Regions from separate parts of the Homo sapiens genome. Here all the other regions are linked to region 1. The links are contacts of gene promoters, found by promoter capture Hi-C in blood cells and fetal thymus (Javierre and others, 2016). All regions are on one chromosome and are shown on one strand. Each heading gives the region's core, a stretch centred on a gene start or on the middle of the fragment in contact. The rest is flanking DNA. Distances are from core to core; before and after follow the strand shown.

Region 1 (2,563 bases), core at 46-2,545:
GGATTTCTTGGTGTTTCGAAATGTGACGGAGCAGCTCTGCAGAGTTCAATATGCTAATCGGCTACCCTGGGAACCAGGAAGACCACCCTACACGCCTCAGAGGGTCACAGCCGGAAAGCTCTTGAGTCCTATCTTCCCTACCTCGTCTCGTCCCTCTCCAAAAAAACACACACACAAAAAAACACCCTCAGTAAACACTGTAAAAACCTTTAATTTATAGCTCCCTTCTGGAACCGAGAGAGCAGCCTGGTGGGGTGGAGGCAGGAGGCTGGGGAGTAGGGACAGAAATGTTTGCTCTCGGTTTTGCCGGAACTTTGGCCACCCCTCCCGCCCGGCCCGATGGCGGATGGAGGTCAGCCAGGGGAAGGCGTCTGGGTGGAGGCCGCCCGGGCGAGGCCGGGGCCGCCGGGGCGGGGCGGAGCGCCGGCAGCTGGCTGGGCGGCCCTCGGGCAGGAGGCCCCGCGGGGGCGAGGGGCAGCCCAGGAGGGAGGTCCCGCGGGGGCGGGGAGCAGAGCCGGCCCCGGGGGCCCTGCAGGGCGGCCGCCGCCCGGCTGCCTCCGGGGCGGGGCGGCCCAGCTGCGGCCCCGCAGGGGGAGGGTCGCCCGTGCCTGACCTCGGGCGGCGGCACTCTGCCGGGCGGGCACTGCCTCCGCCCTGCCGGCTGCTGGGGTCGCGCACAGTGCACCGCGCGGCTGCCCTGCCCCCTCTTCCCCGCTGCGCGGCGTCCGAGCGGCCAGGGCGCCCCCGCGTCTGGCCCATCACCACAGAGCGGCGGGTGGGGCGGGGGCGGGGCGGTGGCCCCAGACAGCCGGCTGGGCGACTAGAGGAAGGAAGGAGGGAGGGCGGCGGTGAGGGTGGGGTGGGGAGGGAACATCCTGTCTGCGCCGGGTGCACCGCAGACAGCGCCGCGCGCCAGCTTCCCAGACGGCGCGCGGGGCCAGAAGCGCCGGGCGCGCGCCTGGGGGGAGGGGCACGCGCGCGAGACGACGGGGCCAGGGGGGCGCTCTGAGGAGCCACAATAGGCCAGACGGCACGCGCGTCCACGAGGGGGCCGGGAGCCGCGAAGTGGCGGCGGCGGCGACGACGCCGGCGGGCCCGCGCGCGCGGCGCCGCCGCTGGCTCCGTTCCCTTCCCCTCCCCCTCCCCGCCGCCCTCGCTCTCCCCCGGGCGGCCGGAGACGGCGGCGGCGTCTGCGGGAAGCTGTGTGTCTCCGCAGTGACGTGGGCGGGCCGAGGACTCGGTGACGTCAGAGGGCTGTGTGTAGCGATGTGTGTGGGGTTCGGAGCCGCGCCGGCACAGCCGAAGGGAGCGGGCGAGCGGCGACGGCGGCGGCGGCGGGCACAGGTGCGGCTCCGGCTTACGGCGGCGACGCGGCGGAGGCGGCGGGAGGCCAGAGGCGCTCACCCTCCTAGGAGCCCGACGGCGGCGACAGGGGCGGTGGGGAATTCACAAAGCTCGTCGAGCTTACCCGGGCACCGAGGCCCGAGTAGGGGGTTTGGATGCGCGGGTCCCGGGTGGGGTCGGGGCCAGAGGGGGTCGCTAGGCGGGTGTTCCACGGCTGATCACGCTTCGTTGGCCCCAGGCGGTGGGCGCCGGCAGGGCAGGGCGCTGTAGTTGACGGGAGCCGCGGGGACCCCGGAGACCCGGACGCCCGTCACCGCCCCCCTCCCCCAGTCCAGCAGCGCTCCGCGGGGATGCCCTGGTCTCGACCCGGTCCGTCAGCCCCCGGCGGCGCAGGGATCCGCGCCCGGCGCCTAAACTGCCCTGGTGTCCTCTTCGTTCTGGCCCGGGGCTGGCGCGGGGAGGTGCAGCATTAGGGGCGCTGAGGTGACACCCGAGAACTTCCCAGGGAGAGGGTGCGCGGGGGGGTGGATTTCCACAGTCCTTCCCGCGGCCCCCGCGGGGGGGCGGTGTTGGGAGGGCACTTGGGGTTATCCCAGGCTCGCCGGTGGGGGTGGGGGGACTCCTCCCTTTACTTCCCTCCACCCCCTTGCACACCCACCCCCAGGCTTCCCGTGTCCCTTGTTCTCCCTCTCTCCGGGTTAGAGATAGGTGGGTGGCTTTGAGTGGGCGGAGGACTTCAGGGTTTTAGGGGCTCCCCCATTCTAGGTCATGCCTCTTGCTCTCTTCCTTGGCCTGTGTTGAGTAAGGTGTGTTCCTGTGGTGGACGAAAGTCTGTACGATGGTTGGTGGCATTGGTCCTTAATCCTTTGGGTCTGTTTTAAGGTAAAGTGCTGAGAGTTTGGGAAGCAAAAATTTCTATTTATTGGATTTCTTTTGGCTTTTCTCTCAAGAAGGAAGTGGAAAAAGAGTCTTTTCTTTTTCCCTCTTCCTCCATTTGCATTCTTTGTGAGGTTTGTCTGCCTTGTGCTTTTTGTCCCGGATTAGTCTTGTTGAAGGATGGAGATTCCCAGGCGTGGAGTCTATAGCTTTTGGCTTCCATTAAGTAAAATCGCTAACCTTTTTTTAAGAGAAAGTTAATTTTTGCCTGCAGTCATTCCAGAAAAATAGTGTACACGGACTAGCTGAATTAATCCACTTAAAATTGTAACTTAGTTACATA
Region 2 (2,563 bases), core at 34-2,533, 690 kb before region 1:
AATCTAGGACTGCAGACATGAGAGAGCAAATAACAAGGTTCAACCCCAAAGGGTATCAATGGCCTGCAAATCTCTTTATTCAAGAGAATCAAAGTTCAAAGAATTTGTCCTTGTTAAGGATGCCTACCATTTTCCTTTATCCAGAGCTGTGTAATTCTGGGGGCATTTGGCTGTAAGATAGAGGTCCCTGGAGAACCAAGCTACAGGTCTCAAGGGAGACAGATGTATAAGGTTGAAATGTGAGGAAGGGAAGTAGGAAGGTAAAGGAGGGAATTACTCACAACAGGAGTAAAACAACTTCCAAAAGAGAAGGCTCTAGTGCCCACACGCGTGGGCACAAGAGAACTCTATTATCCACTCTGAATTAAAGAGGCACCTGGGTTTTTTTCCAGACCTAGAATTCCCGCTGTCCTGTGCATAAAGGTGAGTGTGCTAACACATTTGGTGTGTGCAAAAGCACCAGCCATTCCAACATTCTGTTAGGTTCACACAGGTCTTTGACTCTGAAACTTCCCCCAAAATGTGACTCCACCAGCTTCCCTCAGTTTAGATGGAGAGGTGCCTACCCTCTGACCAGCAAATGTCCTCCGAGGAAACGGAGAAATGGGTCTTGAGAGGCTTTGGAAGGGGGGACAAAATCTCTAGGGAGAGACAAACACTAGGCTGACTGGCAAGAAGTTCATAAGGCTGCTTCTGATCGGTGTAAGAGACTCTCTAGGGACCATCCCCTAGGCCAGGGGACAGACCAGCAGCACCTGAAGATCCCAGCTGTCAAAATCTAGGTCTTGTCCCTCCAATCCTCACCTTCCCTGCCAGGCACCCCAGGGGTGGCTGAGCACCTTGCCTTGGTGCCCAACCGCCAAGGTAGCTTAAAAAAAAAAAAGAAAGAGAAGAAAAGAAAAAAGAAAAGAACCGCCATCCTCCCCTCCACTCCTCCGGCTAATCCCTTTCACCTCATCCCCAGGGGGTCTGTCTATGTCTAGGTTCCCTTGGAGACGGGAGGTTAAGAGGGGTGCAAGAAATGTTCCTAGGAAAGGAGGGGACCAAGGTACCAAACTCTGAGATTAAATGCAAGACCCACATGTGAAGCTGAGCTTGCTGTTGCTGCTGAGAAATTATAAACCACGTGGAGGGTTGGGGAGGTAGGGGGTGGGTTCTGTGAGGGGAACTGGGTGGGAGGTGGAAGACTGAAGTGAATCGGAGTCTCCGAACCTCCAAATTTAAAGGTCCCCGTCTTTTAAACTTTTCTAGAAGGGGGGTTGGCGGAGTGGGAGGCGGAATGAGGCGCGGCTGGAGTACCCCTCCCCTTCTGGTTTGAAGTCTCCGCTGTCGCTTCAGCGCTCCAGCTTTCTCCCTGGTCTTTCTAACAGTTTCGGGCCACGAGAAAATCCAACCCCTTCTAACAAATAATAAACGCAAACTCTTCTCTGTCCCCAGACCAAGCCATTGTGAAAAGACAAGACATCGTCTTTTAAATAAATAAAAGTATTCTCAATATCATTCGTTTTTTATTTTCAAACCTAAAAGCTGGGCTTCTTTTCCTTTTCTCTCCTTTTCTTTTTCTTTCTTTATCATTAGCTTTCTGCCCTAAGTGTGCGCTAATAAAGAGCTAAGTTGCTAGTTCAAGTGTGTTTAACCTGATGGAGCAAACACCCAGCAGCAACCGGTCGCGCTCGCGGCTGATAGCGCCGCGACCTCTGCGCGTCCGCCCCGGCCGGTTCCCATTCTCAAGTGCCTGGACCCTGTCACTTCCACCTGTCCCAGTCCCAGCCGTGAGACCAGAGCAGGTGACTGTTCAGCAGCCCCTAGAGTTCCCGACACCCTCTGACGGGATGTCTGAGCTGTCGCTGGCCCAAGAGAAAAGAGGCCTCCAACAAGTTGGCGGAGCTGCCCTAGCTACCCGCCCCCACCCCACCTCTCGCCTTTCCCTCTCCTCCTGAAATTCGTTTTCTTGGGGGACAGTAGCATGCATTCCAACGTTTCCTTGTGTTTTCTCCCACGGAAGCGAGCATCCTGGAAGCAGTGCCTCGTTGGAAAGTCGATGGGTTTACAGACTGTCTGGGTTTGCTTGTTTTATTGCTGTCACTTTTTGTTTCGTGTTTTTGTTTGTTTAGCAGAAGTGAAGAGATTGAGATAGAAGTTAGAAGGAAAATGGGACATTGATGAGAAAGACACAGACAAGTATATCCCTTCCCCAACTATATTTTTTAAATTAATGTTAGAAATGGCAAATAACCGATTTTCAATACATTACATGCAACAGGAAGTTTTCCTTTCCTCTCATTTTAATTGAACCGGCCCCACGGTATCTTTGGAAGAAAGTTTGAATTCTTTATGGAGGTATTTCGAGGCCTATTGTCTTTGTGCAGTGAACTTTACATCATGCTATTCAATCACAACCTATATTCTCCTGGCTACCAGCAAGATTAATTTAATCATTGTAATGCAATTATTAATACTGTTTACCCAATGCTGGGTTTCAGGTTGGCTGTTAAGAAATTAAACTCTCGCTGGGTGACCAGAGCTAGGCAGGGGTTTCTTCATGTTGAAATGAAACAGTCCT
Region 3 (2,563 bases), core at 46-2,545, 580 kb before region 1:
TTTATCTCGTGAATTCAGAAACACTAATTTCTTTTGATTCTACTGGTGTTTTCAGTGGTCTGGAAAAGATTATATTTGTTTTCAGTTCCAACAGTTAACATTTTCTTAATAACAAAGCTAGTACTGTTGATGAAATCTTATATGACTTATGCAACCAAAACACTATTTTCTTCTAAATATAAATTTTATTGTTCCTTTAGGTGAGAAGCCATACAAATGTGAATTGTGTGATAAAGGATTTGCTCAGAAATGTCAGCTAGTCTTCCATAGTCGCATGCATCATGGTGAAGAAAAACCCTATAAATGTGATGTATGCAACTTACAGTTTGCAACTTCTAGCAATCTCAAGATTCATGCAAGGTAAAAAACCAAATGAGTTGTTTGATCTTTTAGTCTTTTAATCACCATAGTCTTATGAATAGACTATTATATTAGAATTCAGGACAGTAGAATTGTAATTGTGGTTCCACCAAACAATGTTAACACGTTCAAGGAACCACAAGGAAGCCACAGTGGTTGATAGGAAATAAGCAGGGGGTGGGGACTACTAGGAAATAAGGTCAGACTCGTCCAGAAGTAAGATCAGAATGGTCCAGAATGCAGCTTAAGAGGATCATTCTGACTGGTATAGGATTATAAGAGTGGAATCAGGGTAAACAGGAATCTATAGATAAAACCCAAGCAAGGGTGATGGTGGTTCAGGCCAGGGTGGCAGCAGTGAAAGAAATAAGTAGTAGTAGATTCTGGATATATTTTAAAGTTAGAAATAATAGAATTTGCAAACAGATTGTATGTGAAGTCTGGAAGAGAGTCAAAGATGATTCTGAGGTTTTGGGCCTGAACCCCTATAAAGATGGAGCTGCCATTAACTGAGATAGAGAAGGTTTGTGGGTAGAACAGTTTAAGTGGAAGTGCAGGAATTTACGAGTACAGTTCTGTGTGTGTTAAATTTGAGATGACTTAACACTTCTGAATAGAGGTGTGCAATAGATAATTGGTTATCTAAGTCTGCAGTTCAGGGGACTGGTTTGAGCTGAAGATAACAGTTTGGCAATCATTAGCGTTTGGCAGTCATCAGCATATGACAGTATTTAAAGCTGTAACCCTGGCTAAGGTCACCAAGAGAGTGAATGTGGACAGAAGAAATCAAAAGACGGCCCTGAGGCACTCTAACTTTATGAGTTCTGAGAGATGGGTGAGAACCAGCAGAGGTAACTAGGAAGGAGCAGCCAGTAGAGGAGGAAAACCAGGAAAGAGGGCTGCCCTGGAATCCCAAGTGAAGGAAGTTATTCCAGATGGGAGTGGTCAATTGTAAAATTCTGTGATAGGGAGATGAAGACTGAGAACTGACGTGGATTTAGTAAAGTGGGAAGTCAGCAGTGCTCTTGACAAAAGTATCATTAGTAGAGGCCAGTAGAGAAGAAATGGAAGTAGATAGAACACTTGGAGTCTCAAGGTTTTGGTAAAGGGGAGCAGAGAATGGAGGAGCAAGTAAGGTCAAGGGTCTTTGTTTTGTTTTTGGTTTTTTTTTAATATGGGAGACATCAGTATATTTGTATACCATAATCCAATGGAGTGAGAAACATGGATGATGTAGGACTGGGGAAACTGCAGAAGTGATATCATTAAGTAGGATCTCAAGTATACAAATTGGAATTGATGGATTCAGATGAACTGTCACCCTCATGTCATATGAATTTTTCTCAGTGAAATAGGAAGCAGGGATGTCACCTGAGAGTTACAATGGGCAAGGAGATGCTGATGGTTTGAGGAGAGAGTTCACAAGTCAAAGAGTGACTAGACTCATGAAAATAATTGCCTGCAGTATTAGGGGCCCACTGACAACCATATAAAGATCATGGAAAAACTTTTTGAACTGATCTCAGAACTAATGTTTTGATAATAAGAAATATTTGTTTTTGGCAGTGTTTACACTGAAACAACTACTGATTTTAAATACATAGTCTTGGCCTGTTAAGATGACATGAAATAAAATCTATAAAAAACTTTATGAATTCTTGCTATATAGACTGACCTCCAAATTGTTTTACTTATTTAACTTTATTTACTAACAGGAAGCATAGTGGAGAGAAGCCATATGTCTGTGATAGGTGTGGACAGAGATTTGCTCAAGCCAGCACACTGACCTATCATGTCCGTAGGCATACTGGAGAAAAGCCTTATGTATGTGATACCTGTGGGAAGGCATTTGCTGTCTCTAGTTCTCTTATCACTCATTCTCGAAAACATACAGGTAAGTTTGACAGGGAGAGACTGCTTAAAATAAAGTTATAAATAAAAGAAAAAGGGGACTTGGGCCTTTTAGCGAAGTAGATCGGAAACTTTGTAGTTAGATATCTGTTTATATTTCTATAAGCTATGTTTATGATTTTTGCACATATTTGTTAAATATAAAAGCTGACTTATTTTCTAGAATAATACAAGGTGGGTGAAATAAATTATATAACTTACACATTAAAATCAGTGAGATAATTTTGATATTATATAAACTTGCATTGAGATGCATTTTGTGACTTTATAAAAACCTTTTCAGCTTCCTAAA
Region 4 (2,563 bases), core at 38-2,537, 560 kb before region 1:
AATACCAGGCATTTTAAGTTTTTAGTAAAATCAAAGCATATTTTCAAATGAATGGCCCAAAGTATTTTGTGACAAGAAGTACTCTTGCATGATTGCTGTATAACATAATAAGTTTTTTAGTCACTGGAAATGCTGATGATGAACACAGATAACTATATGTGTTCTTGTTATATATAAAGGTACTTTGAAAAAAACTTTAAATGAAACCACATAGCAATAGCAGAAAGTACATGAGCTTTATAAAAATCAAGTCTGTCAGATACTAGCTCTACCTTTTACTGGCTATATGACTTTGGGCAAATATTTTCATCTAGCTGAGTCTCAGTTTCCATTTTAGTAAAGTAGCTGAAATTATGCTTCCCTCACAGAAATAAGTTAACTAATAAAAGGTACCTAGCACAAAATAAGTGTTCCATAAGCAGCCTACAAAGCATTTATTATTGTTCAATATTCTGTAATTCTGTATTTGCTGAAATTGCTTTGACACTGAAAAGATACACCCAAAGGAATGCTATGTAGACTAGGATCTTTAAAAATGCACGCCAACCATGCTAAAGGGATGCTATGTAGTCTAGGAACGTAAAAAAATGCAAACCAACCACTTAGGGGGTTCCACTATTGCTCTTCCTAGTGCCAGGCACAGAGGACAAACTCAGTACGTTTTTGTGTTTGGGCCTTGATTGCAGTTTTAGGCTACAACGCTTGAAAGCAGGAGTATCCTAATTAAGGGAGGAACTATTGTCAGAAATAGTAAAGGGTTTTAGCCCCATTCACTGAGTTTGTGACTTGATTTGTCTAGAGTGGCACCTGGCATCAGTATTTTTCAAGCTCCCCGGATAATGCCAATGAGCATTAAAGGTGAAGTCCAACATCTTAACAGCTTTTTGTTATCCCATTCCTCCACGGTAATAAAACAGTAAAACCCGTACATGGAATAGATTTGCAGGTTTGTATTTGGGAACAGCAATTTAAGAGCAGAATAGTACCCTTGGGGATAGAGAAGGTAGTGGCTGTCCTGGAGAAGAACAAAACAGACTAGCACCTAGCTGGCTGCCAGAAGCACCAAGCTGAGAGCAACAAGGGGGCCTGGGCTTTTAATAATAAGCATCCTCAGGTGGATTTAGGAATGACACCACTCAACATATTTTAAAAAGGGATCATGCTTATAATGTGATCTCCTATATATAAACATATTTCCACAGAGATAAAATCCAGAAATGTATTTAGCCCTCGAATCTCCTGTCATGTCCTCAATCTGAGAACCTCCCTACCACACTCACCTCCCCTGCTTTGATTCTGATTACCCTCCTTATGTCCCCATGGCACCCCGGGCATATCACTCTCCAGACTTGTCAAGCTCCCTCCACCTAGATGGAAAACTCACTGAAGACAAGTGCTATGTAATTTATTTGACTTTAATACCTCTAGCACCTCGCTAGCATTGTGTCTTGTTTAAGGTTGCATTCAAATATTCATGGTGTGAATGAATCATGAGTGAAGCAATTCACTGCATGCCTACTTTGAGCTGTATTTTGCTAGTCTTTTAAGTATTTTTAAAATAGGAATCTATTTGAAGATTCTGAGTGTCTTGTTGAACAGATTGGATTTACGTACATGAAACAACGTGATGTAAAACCACAAAAATTCTGGTACCAAAAAGTGCAGCGATAACTCAAAGGGAGAGATCTATGTAGGCAAAGAATGTAAAATACACTTCTGAATATGAGAATACTACTTTAAAAATATCATTAATTCTCAGTGATTCATACTAAGGGGGAACAATGAAGTAGATAATTTTAAATTATCTAAAGTGCTTTAATCATTTAAAAAGTTCAGAGTTTGGCTGGGCATGGTAGCTGATGCCTGTCATCCCAGCACTTTGGGAGGCCAAGGCAGGCAGATAGCTTGAGCTCAGGAGTTCAAGACCAGCCTGGGCAACATGACAAAACCCTGTCTTTACCAAAAATACAAAAAAATTTAGGTGGGCATGGTGGTGCATACCTGTGGTCCCAGCCACTCAGGAAGCTGAGGTGGGAGGATCACTTGAGGCCAGGAGGTGGAGGCTGCCGTGAGCCGATATCATGCCACCGCACTCCAGCCTGGGTGACAGAGTGAGACCTCATCTCAAAAAAGAAAAATAAAGTTGAGAATTCAAACACTGACATTGATTGATTGATTGATTGATTGATTGATTGAGATGAAGATGAAGTCTCGCTCTGTCGCCCACGCTGGAGTGCAGTGGTGCAATCTCGGCTCACTGCAACCTCTGCTTCCTGGGTTCAAGCGATTCTCCTGCCTCAGCCTCCCAAGTAGCTGGGATTACAGGCACCTGCCACCATGCCTGGCTAATTTTTGTACTTTTAGTAGAGACTGGATTTTGCCATGTTGGCCAGGCTGGTCTCAAACTCCTGACCTCAGGTGATCTGCCTGCCTCAGCCTCCCAAAGTGCTGGGATTACAGACGTGAGCCACCGTGCCCGGCCAAACATTAAATTTTAAACATTGAACTTTATAAAGTGCTTTGACCATTTACTTTTCCTAATAGTTAGATATATGTTTTTGTT
Region 5 (2,563 bases), core at 27-2,526, 550 kb after region 1:
AGTGATCCTCCCACCTCAGCCTCTGGGTCTGCTGGGACTACAGCTGTGTACACCACCATGCCTCGCTAATTTTTTTTTTTCTGTATTTTGTAAAGATGGCGTCTCACCACATTGCCCAGGTTGGAGAACTAGTTTTTTAAACAATTAACAGAAATAAGTTATTTTTCTATGCTGACTTGAAAATGAAGAGCAGAGAAATACTGAATACTTTCTATGCCAGGCGTTGTTGTATTAACTAATTAAACCTCAAAATGATCCCATGAGGCGTTATTATTTATGTCTCTGCTTTATAAAGAAAGAAATGGAAGCAAAACAGGTTAAGTAACTTGTCAACCAAGGTCACACAGCTATTAAGTGCCAAAGTAAGACTAGGACCAGGCCTGCCTGGCTTAAATCATCCTCTTATCCACTTTGCAGTGCGGAGTACATACCAAGGGTTGGGACAAGGGTGAAGTAAGACACTTGTCTTGGGTGCAAAATTAAAGAAGGCACCAAAAAAACCTCAGTGATCAGATAGGCATTTTAATGCAATATTTTAAAAAATTAGAATTAATGCAAAAATCCTATGATAAAATACCAAAATTCTAAATAAAGATGGGATCAGAATTAATTTTCTTTGCGCCTTGAGCTCCTATATGGCTTGTCATTGTTACTAGTTCTGTCTTTATTTAAAATTTTGTGCCTGAGGCAAGAGCCTCCCTCACTTCATTTGCCTCATCCTAGTCTAGGACCCAAACCAAATTTTTCCTTTAAGTCTTGAGCTCCAATCAATGACTGGCTAACCTTATCATAGTATAATAGTAATTATCTGAACTGCTGATACCATCTTTCTGAAACATGCAACAGGCAAAAGCATTCTATATTGAATGAATATTACTGAATATAATTAATATTGAATAGTCAAAGCTTTCATACTTTAAGACGAAAAGAGAAACCCAATTTTGACAACATTCTACGCTCAACTTTAGCCTGCTGTACTATCTCTACCACATTCAGTAATCACATATACATTTAACAAATATTTTTCGAGCACCTACTATGTACCACATCAAAGTTGGTGCTCCAACAATAATGAAATGATTAAGTAGAATTTTTACATAGGAAAAGGGGGAAACAGAACAGCACTTTTTGGTACGTATCTACTTATGGAGTTCTTAATGGGGTACATTTTCTCATTTAATCCTCCTATTATCACTATTTTGTAGATGAGAAAACAGGCTCAGAAAGGTGTATAACTTGTCCAAAATCATCCAACTAGAAAGTGACAGAACTAGATCCAAACCCAGATCTACCTGGTTAAAAAAACCCACTTGCAAGACAATTCAAATTTCTACAAAGACTTCAAAGCAACCTAGAAAACATTTATGACAAGTAGGAAAGTGAAAATATAAAAGTGTTTACTAGATTAAAACCACAAAAAAGTATGTTTGCATGTGGACAAACAGCAAAAGGAAATCATTGCGTAAGTGCAGTTGATAGCAACATTAAAAGAAATTTATACAATACAACAAAGGGTACAGAAAAAAATCAGTTTAAGTCGGATAAAACAAATACCAGTGTCAACTTTGTATTTTTCACTATGTAAAATGAGCAGAAATGAGTTTGATATATGGTATGCTTGATACAGAAATTGAAGACTTTCAAGAAAAGCTTTAGTTATAAGTAATCTGAGCTTCCACATCCTATAAGGTCAATTATTTTGTTATCATCAATACTTCAAACAACAAAATGCTATCATTAAATATGACCTACCCAAATGTATAACTGGAACTAAAACTTGAAATTTACATACATAATTTAGCAAAAGGTCATAGCATGGTCACTAAGTATAATTTAACCAATTATATAGTTTTTGTGTTTTCTTCACCATACTCAGTGACCAGGTACTTTATCCTTTATATTTATGGCTTTCAACTTATTTCTCTACTTAAGAATGTCAAGTTCTGACTAACATTCATTAATGCAAAAACTTGGTAGGAACATGAATTTCAGTAGTTTCTTGAATGTCTCAGGTCTGATCAGTGAAAAGAAACAAAACATCCAGGAGGGATGTTTTAAATTAGAACAAGAAATATTTTACAACAGAGAGAATAGTACTTTTACTAAACATTGGACTTAATTGCAATATGCAGTCACTTGGCCTGAGAACACTAATAAGTATTTGACTTTTTAAAAAATGCAAGAATGTGAAAAAAATAGCAAACTAGCAATAATCCTAGAAAAGTACATGTGTTAAACATCACTATTTCTCCAATTTCTAAGATAGCTGGTGCCTAATAATTGGTTAGAAAAACCTACAAAACTACTCTTGGGTTTTGTCAAATTATTACTGATAGTACAAAGTATTTGCACCTTGAAGAAACAAGCAACATTCTAAAGAAAATCAGTGCTTACTTGATAATCATTTCTCTTAATATTTGGAACATCCATGTTGTGAGTAGAAGGACAAATATCTTCATATTTTTTGCCCGTGAAAATATCAATTCCAACAAGGTGAACCTAACAGAGGAGAACAGGAAACCTGTTTAATCTCTGCCAAGTATATCACTCATTACACACACAA
Region 6 (2,563 bases), core at 28-2,527, 530 kb before region 1:
TCAACAACTATAATCAAATAATAGGTCTGCTTTACCTGGCCATGGACACCAGTCTCATGTGTTCCCTATAAATTATAAAAGTCCTGGGCCTTACGGATTTATTTTTAAAAATCTTTTTTTTTTTTTTTTTGAGATGAGCTCTCGCTCTGTTGCCCAGGCTGGAGTACAATGGCGCCATCTCAGCTCACTGCAACCTCCACCTCCCAGGTTCAAGCGATTCTCCTTCCTCAGCCTCCCGAGTAGCTGGGACTATAGGTGCCTGCCACCACGCCCGGCTAATTTATGTATTTTTAGTAGAGGCAGGGTTTCACCATATTGGCCAGGCTGGTCTCAAACTCCTGACCTCATGATCTGCCCACCTCAGCCTCCCAAAGTGCTGGGATTACAGGCGTGAGCCACTGTGCCCGGCTGCTAAAAAAATCTTTTATTTGATTTTTTATTTCTAGAACTTTTTTCCCCAAATTGCTATGGGGTTTTAAAGCTGCCTTTCAGGAAGTAAACATTTTGATGGTAACTTGTAGATTTAGGTCGAGATTCTAGGACTTAATCTCCACTGATGTAGCAACTCACCTTGGAGGATTTTTGAGGTTCCGTGAGAGCCCGGCCCTGAACTATTCCACTGCTGATGTAAGAAATTCCTTTTAGTGGACTAAGTCAGTCATTCTGCAGTTGGAGTGAAAGACTTAAAATATAAAGTACATGTGGGAGGGATAACACATTATACTGAGCCATGAATAATACCTAATCCTTTTCTGAGAGAAATTTTAAGAAATCAAAGGAGCAAATCACACACAGACTGCTTGTTAACAAAAATAAGCTTCATCCAATACCAAGTTTTAGCACAAGTCAAACTGCACTGAAATGTAGACATGTTAAATATTATTGTATTGAACATGACAATCTCTGTGTACCAGTGCTTTTTCCTCTTCAGTTATTCTGATGGGTTTTGTGTGTGTGTGTGCATTTGTCCTCCCTTCTCAATTTCCTCTTATGCTAATACCACCTTCCAATGCATTTCTCTCCTCAATGAAACATGGCCTTTAAGCCAGCTCATTATCTCTCCCTCCCCAAAGACTCAACTCATGGGTTACTAGCTCTTAAAGCCTAACCAGTAGCTTCTACTTGCCTGTGTGCATGCAAAAAATATCTGATTTTCAATGTGTACCTAGATGGATTTTATTTGTAGAGTATACTTCTATTAAAGGAGAAAAGCAGGCCACGTGCGGTGACTCACGCCTGTAATCACAACACTTTGGGAGGATGAGGCGAGTGGATCAACTGAGGTCAGGAGTTTGAGACCAGCCTGGCCAACGTGGCGAAACCCCATCTCTACTAAAAATACAAAAATTAGCCGGGCATGGTAGTGGGCACCTGTAATCCCAGCTACTCGGGAGGTTGAGGCAGGAGAATCGCTTGAACCCAGGAGGCAGAGGTTGCAATGAGCCAAGATTGTACCATTGCCGTCCAGCCGAGGCAAGAAGAGTGAAACTCCGCCTCAAAAAAAAAAAAAGAAAAAGAAAAAGGAAAAAACCAAAACAATGTACCAGATCCCAAAATGGCTATATGTCAGTTACAGTGTCATCAGTAATTGTCCTCATCTAATGCTCTACAGATTTTCTATACATCTAGATTTCTTCTCATTATACTTTACTATGACTATGATGAAACTAACTACTGGATCTTAAATACTCCTAAAAAAAATTTTTGAACATTCAATGTGCTTTGAAAAAGAAAAGCTAAGCTTTTATGAGTTAAGTGAACAGCAATAAGAATGAAATTTCTAGGTTATAATAAAATGGTTAGATTGAAAAATCTTTTTTCATTGTTTTGGACTGCACAGAATGCAGGCATTTTGTATTGAAGACATCTAAGTGCTTGATGAAGAATTTTGAAATAGCCAAAGAGGAAAGCTTAAACATCAGTTTCTCCAAAGATTGACTTCATCTAATTAAAATAAATAGGTAAATAAATAAAACTGGAAAACTGTTACAGCATTTTTAGGAAAATGAGTCCTTACTCTACACAAAAAAGAGAAAAATGCATTATGGAAGATTCCAAGTATGTGAAACTTTTACAGATAGGTTGTCCTCAGTGAACTTTCTTTTTCTCCAACTGTAAGTGACCCATTCACCAATTACCTGTCTATTCCACCCATCCATAGAGAGGTGGGGGTGGGAGTGGCTCAGCTGAGCTCTAGCCAGAATGAAAGTAGGGTGGCTGACTAGGGAATGGATGGGAAGAATGCCCATGGGCTCAAGCAGGGAACTGTGGGGAAGGATTTCCCAGTTAGGAATTAAGCCAGATAAAGGAACATATGAGTTAAGGAGCTGTTGAGCTATATAGCTGGGATTTTTTTCTACGAGAAAATAAGGCATCTCTGTAACACAGTCAATAGGGTGATTGTCACATATTTTAAGAATGAGATTTTTTCGCCGGGTGCGGTGGCTCATGCCTGTAATCTCAGCACTTTGGGAGGCCTAGGCGGGCGGACCACGAGGTCAGGAGATCGAGACCATCCTGGCTGACATGGTGAAACCCCGTCTCTACTAAAAATACAAAAAAT
Region 7 (2,563 bases), core at 18-2,517, 510 kb before region 1:
ACTGCACTCTAGCCTGGGTGACACAGCAAGACTCCCTCTCAGAAAAAAATAAAATAAAATACATAAATAAATAAATTTATTTTTTGTTTGGATTTTATAATGTGAGCACCCTATTTTATTATATTTTATTATTTTAGATTTATTACATTTTAAAAAATCTAGGTAGGGGAAATGTAGGCCATGGGTATACTCTTTATAGTTTACTGTATGAAAAAATAAATGCCATTAATTATTTTTAAAATGTATATAAGCTAGTGATTAACAAATTTTTAATGTTTCTATTAGAAAAAATATAAAAGTGACAATTGCTAAAACCACATATAGTAATACTTGTTTTTTGTTGCTGTTGTTGTTTTTGTTTTTTTGAGATGGAGTCTGCTCTCTTGCCCAGGCTGGAGTGCAATGGCGCAATCTCAGCTCACTGCAACCTCCATCTCCCGGGTTCAAGTGATCCTCCTGCCTCAGCCTCTCGAGTAGCTGGGATTACAGGCACCTGCCACCATGCCCAGCTAATTTGTGTACTTTTAGTAGAGACAGGGTTTCACCATGTTGGCCAGGCTGGTCTCGAACTCCTGACCTCAGGTGATCCACCTGCCTTGTCCTCTCAAAGTGCTGGGATTACAGGCGTGAGCCACCATGCCTGGCCTGTAATACTTGTTATTGAGTAAAAATTCAAAGAAGGAAAATATACCCTGATAAAATGTAAAAGTATAAATTTGACCTGAGAAAAAAACTGTCAGTAAAAATTAAGAAAAAATATACAATGGCTGAAGACATGGTGAATAAAATTTGATGCAGACAAAAATAAAAAAGACCGAAATGAAGAAGCAAATTTTAATTATAAACATTAAATAAAATAACTTAAATATATTTAATGGTGTCTAATTCAGAGAAATAAATAAATAAAAATCAAAAGCTTATTTTTTAGAAGACACAACATCAATAAACCCCTTGCAGTAGTCAGAATTCTAAATAGCCACCTTAAGATTTCCATTGTATCCCCAGGACTGAATGTGGTAGATTTTGCTCCCAGAATTAGCTTAGGCTATATGGCACACCTGACTTTAAGAAAGGGAGATTATCCATATGGAGTCAACCTAATCACATGAGCCCTTTAAAAGCAGAGAGAATTTCCTCCTACTGCTGGCAGAAGAGGAAGGAAGTCACAGAAGTCAGAGAGATTTAAAGTGTGAGAGGCACGGACAATCCACTCCTGTCTTGAAAATGAGGGGCCATGTATCAAGGAATGTGGCTGGCCTCTAGTAGCTGACAGCAGCCCCCAGCTGAGAGCTAGCAAGAAAACGGGACCCTCAGTCCTAAAGCTGCAAGGTCCTCGACTCTGTCAACAAGAATGAGCTTGAAAGTGGATTTATTCCTAGAGCCTTCAGATGAGAACTCAGCCAGGCTGACACCTTGATTTTAGTGTTGTAATACCCTACACAGAGAACCGACACAAGCTGTGTCAGACTTCTTACCTACAGAACTGTGAGCCGGGTGAGGGATGAGAAATTACTTAATGATGCATTATTCATTTGGGTGATGGTTACATCAGCACCCCAGACTTCACCACTACAATATACGCATGGAACAAAACTGCACTGGTGCCCCTCACATTTATATAAGCTTTTAAAAAGAACTGTGAACAAATACATGGATATTGTTTTAATCCACAAATTAACATGTTACACAGCAACAGAAAACTAATACCTTTGGTCAGACTAGCCAAGAATAAAGAGATAGAAACACAAATTATCAATATCAGGAATGAGACAGGTGGTATCACTATGGGCAGTAAAAGGATAACAAGGAAACAACTTTATTTCCATAAATTCAACAACCTAGATGAAATGGGCCAATTTCTTAAAAGACACTATCAGAACTTGCTTAAGAAGAAATAGACAACTGGAATAGTCCTAGCTCTATTTTTTTTCTATCTCTATTTTTTAAATTGAATTCGTAATTTAAAATATCCCACAAAGAAAATTCCAAGTTTAGATGGCTTCAGTGGTGAATTCTGTGAAACAGTTGAGCAATAAATAATACCAATTTTACACAATCTTTCTGGAAAATAAAAGAGGAAGGAACACTTTCCAACTCATTGTATGAGGCTACCTATACCCTCATAACAAAGCCAGACAAAGACATTATAAGAAAACCAGTAGACTATTATCCCCTTGTGAACATAGGCACAAATATCCTCAACAGAATATTAGCAAATAACATCCAACGCTATATAAACAAGATAATACATAATGACCATGACCAGGCTGATTTAACATTAAAAAATCAGCTAATATTATTAATTATTATCATTCATTATTATTATGAATATTAATGAACTATAGTTTTTTTAAATGCTCATCTCAATAGATGCAGAAAAATATAATTTGACAAAATTCGTTATAAGAACTCTTAGCAAATTAGGATTCCTTAACCTGATAAAGGGTAGCTACAAAAAAACCTATAGCTAACATCATACTTAATGGTGAAAAATGGAATGCTTTTCCCCTTAGCTTAGGGGACTAAGACTGGAAGCAAGGCAAGAATGCTCTCATCTCATTCA

Evidence for each region. The method cuts DNA at HindIII sites, captures the fragments that hold promoters and counts their contacts. A CHiCAGO score of 5 or more calls a contact.
Region 2: a fragment that was not itself captured here is called in contact with the fragment with the promoter of SKIL in region 1 in 1 of 17 cell types (total B cells); the score reaches 5.2 in total B cells.
Region 3: a fragment that was not itself captured here is called in contact with the fragment with the promoter of SKIL in region 1 in 1 of 17 cell types (total CD8 T cells); the score reaches 6.1 in total CD8 T cells.
Region 4: a fragment that was not itself captured here is called in contact with the fragment with the promoter of SKIL in region 1 in 2 of 17 cell types (fetal thymus and naive B cells); the score reaches 7.5 in fetal thymus.
Region 5: a contact is called between a fragment that was not itself captured here and the fragment with the promoter of SKIL in region 1, in 7 of 17 cell types (naive CD8 T cells, activated CD4 T cells, total B cells and 4 more). The highest score is 9.7, in naive CD8 T cells.
Region 6: a fragment that was not itself captured here is called in contact with the fragment with the promoter of SKIL in region 1 in 1 of 17 cell types (total B cells); the score reaches 6.6 in total B cells.
Region 7: a fragment that was not itself captured here is called in contact with the fragment with the promoter of SKIL in region 1 in 2 of 17 cell types (total B cells and naive B cells); the score reaches 6.6 in total B cells.

What each region holds. Positions count from the first base shown.
Region 1 is chr3:170,356,420-170,358,982 of GRCh38, forward strand. It overlaps SKIL (SKI like proto-oncogene), which reads left to right and starts at 1,296. Exons shown (of 7, transcript NM_005414.5): 1 at 1,296-1,344. RefSeq lists silencers at 249-1,148, 1,309-1,538, 1,589-1,718, 1,809-1,878. The HindIII fragment of the contact is 9,771 bases long and covers 1-2,563 here.
Region 2 is chr3:169,664,916-169,667,478 of GRCh38, forward strand. No RefSeq gene overlaps it. Among named protein-coding and RNA genes, the nearest start is that of MECOM, 2.5 kb to the left of the region's middle. RefSeq lists an enhancer at 1,718-2,234. The HindIII fragment of the contact is 4,531 bases long and covers 1-2,563 here.
Region 3 is chr3:169,780,390-169,782,952 of GRCh38, forward strand. It overlaps MYNN (myoneurin), which reads left to right. Exons shown (of 8, transcript NM_018657.5): 4 at 201-360; 5 at 2,076-2,254. Among named protein-coding and RNA genes, the nearest start is that of MYNN, 8.3 kb to the left of the region's middle. The HindIII fragment of the contact is 3,421 bases long and covers 1-2,563 here.
Region 4 is chr3:169,797,531-169,800,093 of GRCh38, forward strand. All of the region lies in intron 7 of LRRC34 (leucine rich repeat containing 34), which reads right to left. Among named protein-coding and RNA genes, the nearest start is that of LRRIQ4, 14 kb to the right of the region's middle. The HindIII fragment of the contact is 4,437 bases long and covers 1-2,563 here.
Region 5 is chr3:170,904,595-170,907,157 of GRCh38, forward strand. EIF5A2 (eukaryotic translation initiation factor 5A2) reads right to left here. Exons shown (of 5, transcript NM_020390.6): 3 at 2,395-2,499. Among named protein-coding and RNA genes, the nearest start is that of EIF5A2, 2.8 kb to the right of the region's middle. The HindIII fragment of the contact is 744 bases long and covers 905-1,648 here.
Region 6 is chr3:169,824,896-169,827,458 of GRCh38, forward strand. The region is part of intron 2 of LRRIQ4 (leucine rich repeats and IQ motif containing 4); the gene reads left to right. Among named protein-coding and RNA genes, the nearest start is that of LRRC34, 13 kb to the left of the region's middle. The HindIII fragment of the contact is 924 bases long and covers 816-1,739 here.
Region 7 is chr3:169,842,005-169,844,567 of GRCh38, forward strand. The region is part of intron 8 of LRRC31 (leucine rich repeat containing 31); the gene reads right to left. Among named protein-coding and RNA genes, the nearest start is that of LRRC31, 27 kb to the right of the region's middle. The HindIII fragment of the contact is 707 bases long and covers 915-1,621 here.